Linked DNA regions of Homo sapiens: regions 2, 3 and 4 are each linked to region 1. Evidence: promoter capture Hi-C in human tissues and cell types (Jung and others, 2019). All regions are on one chromosome and are shown on one strand. Each heading gives the region's core, a stretch centred on a gene start or on the middle of the fragment in contact. The rest is flanking DNA. Distances are from core to core; before and after follow the strand shown. Region 1 holds the start of RASAL3 (RAS protein activator like 3). Region 2 holds the start of OR1I1 (olfactory receptor family 1 subfamily I member 1). Region 3 overlaps NOTCH3 (notch receptor 3). Region 4 holds the start of CASP14 (caspase 14).

Evidence for each region. Contacts are between HindIII fragments. The study calls those that stand out against the background at their distance.
Region 2: the fragment with the promoter of OR1I1 here is called in contact with the fragment with the promoter of RASAL3 in region 1 in 3 of the 25 tissues and cell types used here (heart left ventricle, heart right ventricle and small bowel).
Region 3: a fragment that was not itself captured here is called in contact with the fragment with the promoter of RASAL3 in region 1 in 2 of the 25 tissues and cell types used here (aorta and heart left ventricle).
Region 4: a contact is called between the fragment with the promoter of CASP14 here and the fragment with the promoter of RASAL3 in region 1, in 2 of the 25 tissues and cell types used here (IMR-90 fibroblasts and heart left ventricle).

Annotation. Positions count from the first base shown.
Region 1 is chr19:15,462,557-15,465,924 of GRCh38, forward strand. RASAL3 (RAS protein activator like 3) reads right to left here and starts at 1,988. Exons shown (of 18, transcript NM_022904.3): 1 at 1,949-1,988; 2 at 1,475-1,821. The coding sequence starts at 1,802. RefSeq lists enhancers at 1,212-1,351, 1,452-1,581, 2,222-2,331. The HindIII fragment of the contact is 13,394 bases long and covers 1-3,368 here.
Region 2 is chr19:15,079,815-15,083,549 of GRCh38, forward strand. OR1I1 (olfactory receptor family 1 subfamily I member 1) reads left to right here and starts at 2,397. Exons shown (of 2, transcript NM_001004713.2): 1 at 2,397-2,462. The HindIII fragment of the contact is 16,029 bases long and covers 406-3,735 here.
Region 3 is chr19:15,188,485-15,191,184 of GRCh38, forward strand. It overlaps NOTCH3 (notch receptor 3), which reads right to left. Exons shown (of 33, transcript NM_000435.3): 7 at 789-944; 8 at 505-690. Among named protein-coding and RNA genes, the nearest start is that of MIR6795, 10 kb to the left of the region's middle. The HindIII fragment of the contact is 6,552 bases long and covers 1-2,700 here.
Region 4 is chr19:15,047,707-15,051,158 of GRCh38, forward strand. It overlaps CASP14 (caspase 14), which reads left to right and starts at 1,774. Exons shown (of 7, transcript NM_012114.3): 1 at 1,774-1,939. The HindIII fragment of the contact is 29,360 bases long and covers 1-3,452 here.

The sequences.
Region 1 (3,368 bases), core at 738-3,237:
GAGGGCTGAATTAGCCCTCCCAGATTGCCTGTCTGTTCCCTTGTTTTTACCACCAGGAGCAATAAATGATAACTCCCGCTTATTAACGGATCACTTAAAATATGTTGGGCCTGGGGCCGGGCGCGGTGGCTCACGCCTGTAATCCCAGCACTTTGGGAGGCTGAGGCGGGCGGATCATGAGGTCAGGAGATCGAGACCATTCTGGTTAACACAGTGAAACCCTGTCTCTACTAGAAATACAACAATTAGCTGGGCATGGTGGCGGGTTCCTGTAGTCCCAGCTGCTCAGGAGGCTGAGGCAGGAGAATGGCGTGAACCCAGGAGGCGGAGCTTGCGGTGAGCCGAGATCGCGCCACTGCACTCCAGCCTGGGCAACAGAGCGAGACTCCATCTCAAAAAAAAAATAAAAAAAATGCTGGGCCCTAGGCTAGTGTTACATTCCTGAGCCCTAATTCTTGTGATATCCATTACTCTTCTAGATCCCCCTGTGTGACACTTAGCACCATCTGTCATTTTTTTTCTTTCTTTTTTTTTTTTTTCTTCCATTGAGATGGAGTCTCCCTCTGTCGCCCAGGCGGGAGTGCAGTAGTGCAATCTCAGCTCACTGCAACCTCCACCTCCCGGGTTCAAGCGATTATCCTGCCTCAGCCTCCTGAGTAGCTGGGAGTACAGGTATGTGCCACCATGCCTAGATACTTTTTTTTTTTTGTATTTTTAGTAGAAACAGGGTTTTGCCATGTTGGCCAGGCTGGTCTCGAACTCCTGAGCTCAGGTGATCCACCCACCTTGGCCTCCCAAAGTGCTGGGATTACAGGTGTGAGCCATCATGCCTGGCCCATCTGTCATTTTCTTGTTGATGGATTTCCTGTCAATTCCACTACACTGTGAGCTCCATGGGGCAGGGAGGGTCATCTGTCTCTTTCACTAGTGTGTCCTCAGTGCCTAAATCAGGGCCTGGCACATACAATAGAAGCTCAACAAACCTCTGCTTGAATAAATGAATGAATATGAGCAAATAAAATTATATACTCTCCAAAATGGAGATCATTATTCTCACTGAACTGATGGAGAGGCTGAGGCTTAAGGGCTCAGAACAAAGACACGGAAGCTAGAAGGTAGGAGAGTAGGAGGCAGGCTGAAGATGGATATCCAGGTAGGAAAGGATGGGCCTGAGCCATTGAAGGAGAGACCCGTTGGGGCCAAGAGCCGTTTAGCCTCTGGACAATACTATCACGGGTTTACATTCACTGTTCCTTCCTCAGATGGACCCTCTGCCCACAGGACCCCGGCAACTCCTCCTACCCTCTTTAGGGGGAAAGAGGGAACAGGGTAGCTGGGCCCCAGCGGCTTCCTGCTGGGCTTTTGCACTCCCCACAACTTCCTGTGTCTGTATGGTTGATGCTCCGGAGGCAGACAAAACCCAAGCATCCGGCTTCCCAGCCCGGCCCAAGCTCAGGGTGGGGGAACCATGTACCTGGGGCCTCCTGCTCCGGCTCCGGGTCTGGCTCCGGCGGTGGGTTCTTATGCCTCCCCCAGAGGGCCTTGGAGAGTCGAAGGCGACTGGTCCGTGACTCCTTGGGAGGCGCAGATAGGACCCGACGGAATATCGAGCGAGGGGCTGGCTGGGTGCTGACCATGGGCTCCTGGTGGCTCAGGGCCCTGCCCCAGCCAGCAAAGCGGCCCCAGCGGAACCCTCCAGCCGCCTTCTCCCCACCGCCCCCTGTGTGCCAGCGGTAGGAAGTCAGCGGAGAGGTGGCTGTGGGCTGGGTTTGGGAGGTCCGGCTTGGCGACGGTGGGTCCATGGTTGGGGGGGGGGGTCTCCTGGGGGACGAGAGAGTGACAGTAGTGCCCAGTGTCTGTCCACATACTGCCCTCATCTCGGCCCCCTCCCCACCCTCAGCTCTGCCTCCAGGAATCCCCCTGCCCCCACCTCCACTCCCTCCCTTACCTTGGTTTCCTGACCAGCCCCAGAATCAGCAGCCGTCTGCACCCCGCCTGGCTTCCTCCCTCGGAACCCAACTCCACGTGACCCTCTCTGTCCCACCCCACCCCACAGCCAGGCTGGGAGGGCACAGTGCGGGCAGGTTGCTGGAGGTTCGAGGGAGGAGAAGAGAGGAGGTGGGTTACCAGGCTTCTAGCAAGAAGGACCCAGACTGCCTCCCTGACGGGGAGGCAGCACTTGCCCCTCTCTCTGAGCCTCCGTTGCCTTCTCTGCAAAATGAGTACAGGCTGAACAAATGCTGGCGAGAATACAAAGCACCTAGAACTCTAATCCACAGTTGGCCGGAGTGTAGACCCATTCACTCATGTTGGGAAACGGTTTGGCAGGATCTACTAACACTACTAGCTGGATCTTCTCTGACTCAGCAATTCCATTGCTAGGTAGACGTCCAATAGATATGCCCCCCCAGCACAATGCATAATAGCCCCACATTGGAAGCAGCCTAAGTACCCATTAGTGGGAGAAGGAATAAATTGTGATCTCTTCGCACAGCAGAATATCATACAGCAGTGAGAACAAACTAAAGAATGATTTAACTTGGGTGAATCACAAACAATGTTGAGCCAAAACCAAAACCAAAGCCATAAAATGCCAGTAATCTGAGCTATTCAGGAGGCTGAGGGAGGAGGATCGCTTGAGGCCAGGAGTTCGAGGCTGCAGTGAGCTGTGATCATGCCTGTGAATAGGCAGTGCACTCCAGTCTGGGTGACATAGGGAGACCTCATATCTAACTTTTTTTTTTCTTTTTCCCCTCCCTGCCCTCGGGAGACCCCATCTCTAAAAAGCAATAATAAATAAATTTAAAAACCCCAAAACAATGAAGAGTATACACTTTGTGATTCCATTTACATAAAGTCCTAAAGCAGGCAAAACCATGTCTAACAAGCAGGGTATCAGTTTCTTTTGGAGGCACTGGTGGCTGGGAAGAGGGTACAAGGGGGGCTTCTGGAAGATGGCAAGATTTATTATTACTCTTATTATTATTAATTGATTTATTTATCGAGAAGGAGTTTCGCTCTGTCTCCCAGGCTGGTGTGCAGTGGCACGATCTTGGCTCACTGCAATCTCTGCCTCCCGGATTCAAGTGATTCTCCCTACTCAGCCTCCTGAGTAGCTGGGACTACAGGTATTCACCACCATGCCTGCCTAATTTTTTTGTATTTTTAGTAGAGACGGGGTTTCACCATGTTGGTCAGGCTGGTCTTGAACTCCTGACCTGAAATGATCTGCCCGCCTTGGCCTCCCAAAGTGCTGGTATTATAGGCGTAAGCCACCGTGCCCGGCCCTTATTATTATTATTATTTATAAATGAGGTCTATAAAAATAATATAGATCTCATAAAATAAAAATATAATATTTATATTAC
Region 2 (3,735 bases), core at 1,147-3,646, 380 kb before region 1:
CTCCTAGAGAGGATAGAATGAAGTAGACCACCCCCTTCTTCCTCCCTCCCAATGTTCATTGATGGTTTCCTGGTACCAGACTCATTGCCACATAAAGACTCTAAGATTTTCCCAAAGCAATCAGCACTGGACTCCAAACCAACATGACTAGAAAACTGGACTCTGGGAGTGTATAACTGGCCCTGCCTTATACCAATTTCCCAGGGGGGGAAATGTTATTTTTGATAACATTTTCTATAGAGTCATATCAAAAAGAAAGGCTTTTTTCTTCCTGAATATATCTTTTATTCCTCCTTATCTCTCTTCACTCTTCCTTCTATAACTGGTTTCAGAATTCCCAGGAGAGTTCGGATGGGAGACACCAATGTCCTACCTACCATGGCTTTGGGCAAAATAATTTTTTTTCAGAACCACGGACAGTGGCAAAAGTTTGTTCACCCAGTGGGACTTTTTTTTTTTTTTTTTTTTGAGATGGAGTCTTGCTCTGTCACCCAGGCTGGAGTGCAGTGGCACAATCTCGGCTCACTGCAATCTTCGCCTCCCAGGTTCAAGTGATTCTCCTGCCTCAGCCTCCCAAGTAGCTAGGATTACAGATGCCCACCCACCATGCCCAGCTAATTTTTGTACTTTTAGTAGAGACTGGGTTTCACCATTTTTCCCAGGCTGGTCTCGAACTCCCGACCTCAAGTGATCCACCCGCCTCAGCCTCCCAAAGTGCTGGGATTACAGGTGTGAGCCACCATGTCTGGCCACCTTATGGACTTTTTAGGTGGGTTTTTCCCCAACCTTTGGGCTCAAATTGATTTTTTTTTTTTTTTTGAGACAAGGTCTCACTCTGTCACCCAGGCTGGAGTGCAGTGGCATGATCTCAACTTGCTGCAAACTTCACCTCCCGGGCTCAAGGGATCCTCCCACCTCAGCCTCCTGAGTAGTTGGGACTATAGGCACGTCCAGCTAATTTTGTATTTTTAGTAGAGACAGGGTTTCACCATGTTGGCCGGGCTGGTCTCAAACTCCTGAGCTAAATTGATCCACCTGCCTCGGCCTCCCAAAGTGCTAGGATTACAGGTGTGAACCACCATGCCCAGCCTCTGAAAATAATTTTAATTTTAAAAAAATAATGACAGTGGGATTGGCACCTACTCATATCCCCATATGTCCAACGCGAAGTTGGTCTACCTTGTTCTTGCTTTGAAGCTGACCTCCCCACAGAGTTACGATCCAAGAGCCAACAGTCCAACAGCCAATATTATTAGGGAAAGTAATTCTAATATTTACTAAAGCCCCTAGGAGAATTTCAACAAGTATCCTACACACGTTCTGTGTGGCTGATAGGAAGGATTTTTTTTTTAAGAGACAGGGTCTCACTCCGTTGTCCAGGTTGGAATGCAGTGGTGCGATCACAGCTCACTGCAGCCTCAACCTCCAGGGCTCAAGTGATCCTCCCACCTCAGCCTCCTGGGTAACTGAGACCACGGGCATGTGCCACCAATCCTGGCTAATTTTTTTAAATTTTTTGTAGATATAAGGTCTTGCTGTTTTGCCCAAGCTGGTCTCAAACTTCTAGGCTCAAGGGATTCTCCAACCTTGGCCTCCCAAGTAGCTAGGATTATAGGCATGAGCCACCGTGTCCAACTCCAGTGCCAAGCAGGTGATCAAGAAGTGTTTGATAGGCCGGGTACAGTGGCTCAGGCCTGTAATCCCAGCACTTTGGGAGACCGAGGAGAGCAGATCACTTGAGGTTTGAGATCAGTCTTTCCAACATGGTGAAACCCTGTCTCTACTAAAAATACAAAGACTAGCTGGGCATGGTGGTGGGCACCAGTAATTCCAGCTACTCAAGAGGCTGAGGAGGGAGAATTGCTAGAACCCAGGAGGTGGAGGTTGCAGTGAGCCGAGATTGCTCCACTGTGCTCCAGGCTGGGTGAAAGAGTGACACTCCATCTCAAAAAAAAGTGTTTGATAAATTTATTTATTTAATACCGATTTATTGATTGATTGATACTCTTCGGAGCTTTCCTTAATGAGCCAGTTTCTTCCATAATGCAATGAATGAAAGGACCTCTCAGATTCAGGCATCTGAGTGCCCGACTGGAGTCTGGGACCCCCCAGACCTCTCTGCCTGGGAGCTTCCATGAAGCTCAGCCTGAGCTGGAAGGAGACCGTAGGGAGATGTCCTAGTGAGAGTGAATCCCTAGTCACTGTTTCCTCTTCTTACCCACTCGATGATCCCAAAGCACACCCATCTCCAAAAGAACAGGTCACATGTGGCAGAGGAGAAACAAAATAATTAGCATCCGCTTCCTTAACAAGGAGCTATGGGGACGAAGTCTCCTAGAGTCCCCAGACTATAAATACCCTGATGTTCCCCTGGCTCCCCCACTCACCTGCAGAGTCTGGGGGCGGGGGGGTACACATATGAATCCTTCCCATAGACATCAGGCTAACCCCAGCGATCACAGGTGAGTAGCCCCCATGCCCTTCCTAGGGGTTTAGTGCTGACCTCGGGATCCTCTAGCAGTTGGTGGAGAAGGAGGCTTCCCGGGACCCTCCCCTTGGTGATGCCATCCTGGTGAGCAGGTGAGGGATGGGGAAAGGATTGAGCTGAGGGTGGGGGTGGAGGGTTGTGGGAGAGGAATCTGTCTCCTTCCTAGAGGCCGAGAGAGAGAGAAGAGACTGAGACCAAGTCTAGACTCTCTGAGTGGACAAAGCACGCAGACGGCAGACCCTCTGTGGCAGGATATGTGGAGGAAAAGCACTGAGGGTCTGCAGCTGCAGGACACCTGCACAGATAGGAGAGGTCTTGAGAAACAAGTTTCTCCAATGCAGCAGCTCCCCAAGTGTGGTCCCTGGGCTAGAAGCACCAGCATCCTCTGGAAACTATCTAGAAGTGCTGGTTCTTACACCAGACATTTCAGGGAAAGGGCTTAGCTTTTTGTGTATGATGAGTTTGGGAGCGGGGGGGAGGGGGCGGGGGGATTGTTTTGTTTGTTTGTTTGTTCTTTCTGTTTTTGAGACAGGGTCTCGCTCTGTTGCCCAGTCTGGAGTGCAGTGGCATTATCATAGCTCATCGCAGCCTCGACCTCCCAAGCTCAAGTGATCCTCCCTCCTCAGCCTCCCGGGTACCTGGGATAACAGACATATACCACCATGCCTGGCTAATTTTATTTTCGTAGAGGCAGGGATCTTCCTATGTTGCCCAGGATGGTCTCACACTCCCGGGCTCAAGAGATCCTCCTACCTTGGCCCCCCAAGCAGCTGGGACTAACAGGTGTGTGCCACCATGTCCAGCTAATTTTTTATTTTGTAGAGATGGGGGTCTCACTGTGTTGCCCAGGTTGGTCTCTAACTCCTGGACTCAAGGGATTCTCCCACCTCAGCCTTCTGAGTAGCTGGGACTATGGAAGCATGCCACCATGCCCAGCAGATTGTTTTATTTTTTGTAGATCCAGGGCGGGATTGGGGGTGGGGTGGCCTCACTTTGTCTGCCAGGCTGGTCTTGAACTCCTGGCCTCAAGCAATTCTCCCACTTCAGCCTCCCAAAGTGCTGGGATTACAGGTGTGAGCCACCATGCCTGGCCCGCTTTTTGTGTTTTAACAAGCCTTCCAGGTGACCCTGAAGCGTGCTCAAGGTTGAGAACCGCTGCTCTATGCAACCCAAGTCAACAACTGAGGACTGTTACAAATATGTTGCCAGGAAGGGAATCGCAGTATTCTATCCAGCCTAGAGAAAAC
Region 3 (2,700 bases), core at 1-2,500, 270 kb before region 1:
ACCTTAATTTTCAGCCACAGGCTGGACTGTCACCCAGCCGTGGTCCCAACTGGCCCAAGGCTCATGGGTGTCCGCAGAGGCCTTGCCTTCAAACCCCTCCTCCTCTCCCCAGTCCTCAGACTAAGCCCTTTCCCCAGTCCCCAGCCCCCAGCCCCAGGGCCCCCCATAGCCTTTGCCCAGGCTTACTGCAAGCTTGTCTGCAGGCTTCACCTTGACCTCACAGCAGCCCCGACTCTGCCTCTCTATCCCCAACCCCTTCCCGAGTGGGTCCTAAGGCCAAGAATACTCCCAGCCCACCTGAGGTTCTACTGACTCCATTTGACCAAGCCCCCAGAATCACACAGTATTCCCTTCTGGTCCTGACCCCACCTCCTTCCAGGCTTCAGTCTCTAAGGGTCCCACTCCAAACCCACTTACACCCCATTCTGCTCAGCTCCCCATCCGCGGGCTTCTCTGTCCCCGCCCCCTGCCTCAGGACCCGCCCAGGCCACGCCCACCACCCACCTGCCATACAGATACAGGTGAACTGGCCTATGCGGTCGAGGCACGTGGCCTGGTTTCGGCAGGGCCCCGACAGACACTCGTTGACATCGGTCTCACAGCGAGGTCCAGTGTAGCCACGACCGCACTGGCACAGGAAGGAGCCCTGCGTGTTCACGCACCTGCCCAAGTGCTCGCAGGGGTTGGCGCCTGCCGGATGGAGTGCGATCGGTGTGGGCGTGGCTGGCCGGGACCCCCTCCTCTCCCCTCTTTCCCAGCCCATTCACAGACGATGGAGCTCCCCTCACCGATAGAGCACTCGTCCACATCCTGGTCACATGCCCCACCCGTGAAGCCGGGAGGACAGGTGCAAATGGCCCGGCCGTTCACCGGATTTGTGTCACAGATAGCATCCTCGTGGCAGGGGTTGCTGACACAGGCGTCATCCAGGTGACACAGGAGGCCTGGGAAGTGGTAAGCAGAAGTCATAGGCAGATCTTCCTGCTCTGCCCAAAAGGCCCACACCCCTTGAGTATTGTTTTGTCGTTGTTGTTGTTTTGTTTTGTTTTTTGAGACGAAGTTTCGCTCTTGTTGCCCAAGCTGGAGTACAATAGCGCGATCTTGGCTCACTGTAACCTCCACCTCCCAGGTTCAAGCGATTCTCCTGCTCAGCCTCCCGAGTAGCTGGGATTACAGGCATGTGCCACCACGCCCGGCTAATTTTTTGTATTTTTAGTAGAAACGGGGTTTCACCAAGTTAGCCAGGTTGGTCTCAAACTCCTGACCTCAGGTGATCTGCCTGCCTCAGCCTCCCAAAGTGCTGGGATTACAGGCGTGAGCCACCGCGCCCGGCCTGTTGTTTTTATTAAACCTAAACAGTATTTAGTAGCTGCTTTTTTAATCCATTTATTATGAGAACTATCAAACATACAGAAAAGTTGACCATTCATATACCCACCACCTAGATTCAACTATTGTTAGCTTAATCTACCAATCTTCTTTTCTAAACCATTTAAAAATAAATTGCAGACCGGGCACAGTGGCTCACGTCTATAATCCTAGCACTTTGGGAGGCCAAGGTGAGTGCATCGCTTGAGTTCAAGAGTTCAAGACCAGCCTGGGCAATATAGTGAGACCCGTCTCTACAAAAAATACAAAGCTTAGCCGGGCATGGTGGCGCACGCCTGTAATCCCAGCTACTTGGGGGACTGAGGTGGGAGGATCACTTGAGCCCAGGAAGTCGAGGCTGCAGTGAGCTGAGATCATGCCACTGTACTCCAGCCTGGGTGACAAAGTGAGACTCTGTCTCAAAAATAAAATAAAATAAATTGCAAACATCCACATATTGTTTTAAAACCTTTTGACTCTTCTGATTACAAAAGGGTCCTACACTCCAGCCTTTGCTTCTGTAATACCCTCTGCCATGTATGCCCTCTTTCTATATCCACGTTCCCCTCCTAAACATGTTCTCTGATCTTTGCCACTTCCAAAGGTAACTCCCAGGAGTTCCCCATTCCAATGGCTTCTGCCCTGAGCCATGCATCAGTGCAATGTCAGCCTCCTCCCAAGCCTCTCCCAGGCTTACACTTCCCCACTAAAGCTGCCTCCAGCATCATCTTTTTTTCTCTCTCTTTTTTGTTATACACGGTCTTACACTGTCTCCCAGGCTGGAACGCAGTGGCTCAGTCTCAGCTCACTGCAACCTCCACCTTCTGGGCTCAAGCCATCCTTCAACCTTAGCATCCAGAGTAGCTGGGACTACAGGCATGCGCTACCATGCCCAGCTAATTTTTTGTATTTTTGGTAGAGATAGGGTTTTGCCATGTTGCCCAGGCTGGTCTCAAACTGCTGAGCTCAAGCAATCTACCCGCCTGGGCCTCCCAATGTGTTGGGGTTACAGGCGTGAGCCACCACACCCAGCCTACCAAGTTTTTGTAGAGATGACAAAAACTCACTATGTTGTCCAGGCTGGTCTCAAAGTCCTGGGCCCAAGCGATCCTCCCATCTTGGCCTCCCAAAGTGCTGGGATTACAGGCATGAGCCACTGTGCCCGGCCTAGCATAATCTTTTTTTTATTTTTTAAATTTGAGAAGGAGTCTCACTCTGTCACCCAGGCTAGAGTGCAGTGGTGCAATCTTGGCTCACTGCAATCTCCACCTCCTGGGTTCAAGCTACTCTCGTGCCTTAGCCTCCTGAGAGACTTGGATTACAGGTGTGCAC
Region 4 (3,452 bases), core at 524-3,023, 420 kb before region 1:
CTGTAGTCCCAGCTGCCCAGGAGGCTGAGGTGGAAGGATCGAATAAGCCCAGGAGTTTTAAGCTGCAGTGAGCTGTGATCGCTCCACTGCACTCCAGCCTGGGTGACAGATCTTATCTCCGAAAAAAGAAAAAACAAAATGTTCCAAAATGAACTGACGCAATGGTTGCATCACTGTGAATATATTGAAACCCACTGGATTGCACACTTCAGGTGGGTGAATTGTATAATACGTAAATTATATCTCATTTAAGCTGTTGCTATCGAACCGAGTTTGTTCTTCCTCTGTGCAGCAAGCCAATCAATGTAATGACAGATTTTGCAGAAGAGGAAGAGTTCGTTCATGAGGCAATTAAGCGACGAGGTGGTAAAACAGGTCTCAAATTCTCCTCCCCAAAAATAGGGTTTGAGGGTGCTTATGGGATAGAAAACGGGGTGATCTAAAGTACGGAGAAAGGTGACTGGCAGGTAGGGAAGGTGAGGTAATCAGAATTTCTGAGCAAGCATGGTTGAGCTACATGGCTTTAGATAGGACATTTGTGCAAAAAATAGCATTTAGCATGATCTGAAGGTGGAGTTTACGGCCCTCTGATATCAGCTACCCACATAGGTGCAGTTGAAGGGTCAGTGATCTCCACTGGCTTAAACTAAACAAGAGCTGCCTCCTACCTAGTTCCTGAAAAACAACTTTAAGCACCCATTACTATAGTGTCCCACAGACAAAAATGTTATCTGTAAGGAAGCCAGTGGGAGTTTAGTTATGCATTATTTGGCTACGTGACTTGCTAGTGGCGCTTTTAAGATCAACTATAAGTAAGCAATTAAAAGTAAGTAAGCAATTAAACGCAAGGCAGATTAAGTCTGGAGGGCTTAATCAGGTTCGCCTTTGGTTTCACTATTAACATAAGAAATAAAATGAAACAAAATGGCTGAAAAATAATAAGAGGAGGAGGAAGAGAGGAATCATCATGATGCATCAGTTAAGGCAACTGGGCTGGAACATTTTAGGGGTTGTTTGTTTGTTTTTATATTTAAGACAGAGTCTTGCTCTGTCACCCAGGCTGGAGTGCAGAGGCACAATCTTAGCTCGCTGCAGCCTCAAACTCCTAGGCTCAAGCCAGCCTCCTACCTCAGCCTCCTGAGTAGCTAGGACTATAGGTATATGCCATCATTTTTATTATTATTATTATTTTAGTGACAGGGTCTCACTATGCCCCGGCTGGTCTCAAACTCCTCACCTCAAGCGATCCTCCTGCCTTGGCCTCCCAAAGCGCTGGGACTACAGACGTGACCCACCACACCTCACCCCTTATAGGGTTGAATGCCAACTGTGCCAATTGCTGACCTTGGGCAGTCATTTCACCTCTATGAGCCTCAGTTTCTCCATCTGCAAAATGGGAGCAAAAATACTGATCTGTCTAGACTCTTGAAGACTCGATGAGATAATAACTAAGTGAAGTCGGTGTTATCTACACAGTGGAAGGTGAGATGAATAAACTAGGCATAATGATGATGGTAATAACCAGATGGGCTGGCTATGGGATGGGGGTTGGGAGAGGTTGTGGCTGGGCTGGCACAGACATCTGACTCATTTAGACTCTCTGCCTAGGCCACCTTTGCCAGAGGGAGTCCCCTCAGCCTTGCGATCACTCATCCCATTGGCGTTGGCTCCATTTCCACACCACAGCTGTGTGCCAAGGGTGTGTCATGAGGTTTCTTGAGTGACAGAAAACTCACCGACAATAAAGGGCCAGGTGATTGTGCCACCCGATTCATAGACCAGGCTTCTCAGGAGAAACCCCGGGAGATTCCACACTGTCAGCCCCTTCTCCAAGATCAGTACGTGGGCCTGACTCCTCCTCGGTGCCCAGCTCAGTATTGGCAACTAGGAGAGTAGTGAGATTGAACTTGGCCTTGAGGAACAGCTGCCTCTAGAGTTGGTAAGTGATTTGGTGGATATTAGCCTCTCTCTCTCTCTCTCTCTCTCTCTCTCACACACACACACACACACACACACACACACACACGCACATACACACATACGCTCCCTCTCCCTTCATGAATTAATGCTCTGGCCAGTTTTGGCAGAATGGAAGAAATTTCCATCCATCCCCTCTTTCTTTTCATCTGTTCATTTTTTTCTTATTTGTTTACTCAGCAAATTCTCTCCAACACCACCTCTGTGCTCCCTGCCACACTGTTGGCCATGATGGAGACAGAGATAATGAAGTCAGGCTTTCAGTCCTGAAAACTGAGCTGCCAGTTCAGCCATGAGAGTAAGAATCAAAAACACTGCTGTAATTCAAGTAGGAGCAAGCAGAGCTGTGAGAGTCCAGAGAAGGAAGAGGAAAGTTCCAGGAGGTCAAGAGGGATCCTAAAACCTACCTGGGTCACCATTGCTGTTAAGCACCTAGAGCTCTCCCCAGGTCCTTTGCGGATGGGAAAATCGAGTCTCAGAGAGGAGAGTGAGATGCCGAAGGTCACACAGCTGGGAAGGGACTGAGGCAGGATTCGGTTCTGGCTCCAGGGCTATGCTCCTTCCACTTCCTCCCTCACAATCTTTGGCTCCTCTTTCGTCACAGCACTTGCTGTGTGTGTGTGTGAGTGTGTGTGTGTGAGAGAGAGAGAGAGAGAGAGAGATTTAATATTCATTTCTGTCACAGACTAGAGCTACAGAAGGACAGAAAGTCAGGGAGCATGTCTGTCTTACTTAATGGATTCTAAGTGCATAACACATAATAGATACCCAGAAAATATTTGCTGGGTAGGTGGGTGGGTGGGTGGATGGATTGATGGATGGATGGATGGATGGGTGGGTGGGTAGATGGATAAGTAAATAGGTGGATGGATAGATGGAAGATAGAGATGATGGATGAAGGAATGGATAGAAGGAGGGCTAGATGGAGGGATAGTTGGAAGATAGAATAGATGGAGGGATGGAAGACAGAGAGAGATAATGGATGAATGGATGGATGGATGGATGAATGAATGAGTGGTTGGATGAATAAGTGGATGGATAGATAGATGGATGGGTAGATAAATGGGTTGATGGAAGAATGAATGGGTATATGGGATGACTGATTAATAGATGGGTAGACAGACGGATGAATAGATGTGTGAGTGGGTGGATGGATGGATGGATGAGTGGATAGATAGGTAAGTGGAAAGATAAATTGGTGGATGGGTTGATGAATAAAAGGATGGATGTTAAATTGGATTGATGGATGACTAGATAGATGTGCGGGTGGAAGGATGGGTGGATGGGATGACTGATTAATAGATAAGTAGATGGACAGATGAATAGATGGAAGGGTGAGTGGGTGAATGGATGGATAGATGATGAATTAATGGATAGATGGTAGATGGATAGATGAATGAATTGATGGGTGACTGGATAGATAGATGGATAAAAACATAGATGAATGGATGGTTGATGGGGGAAGGCATAGCAGA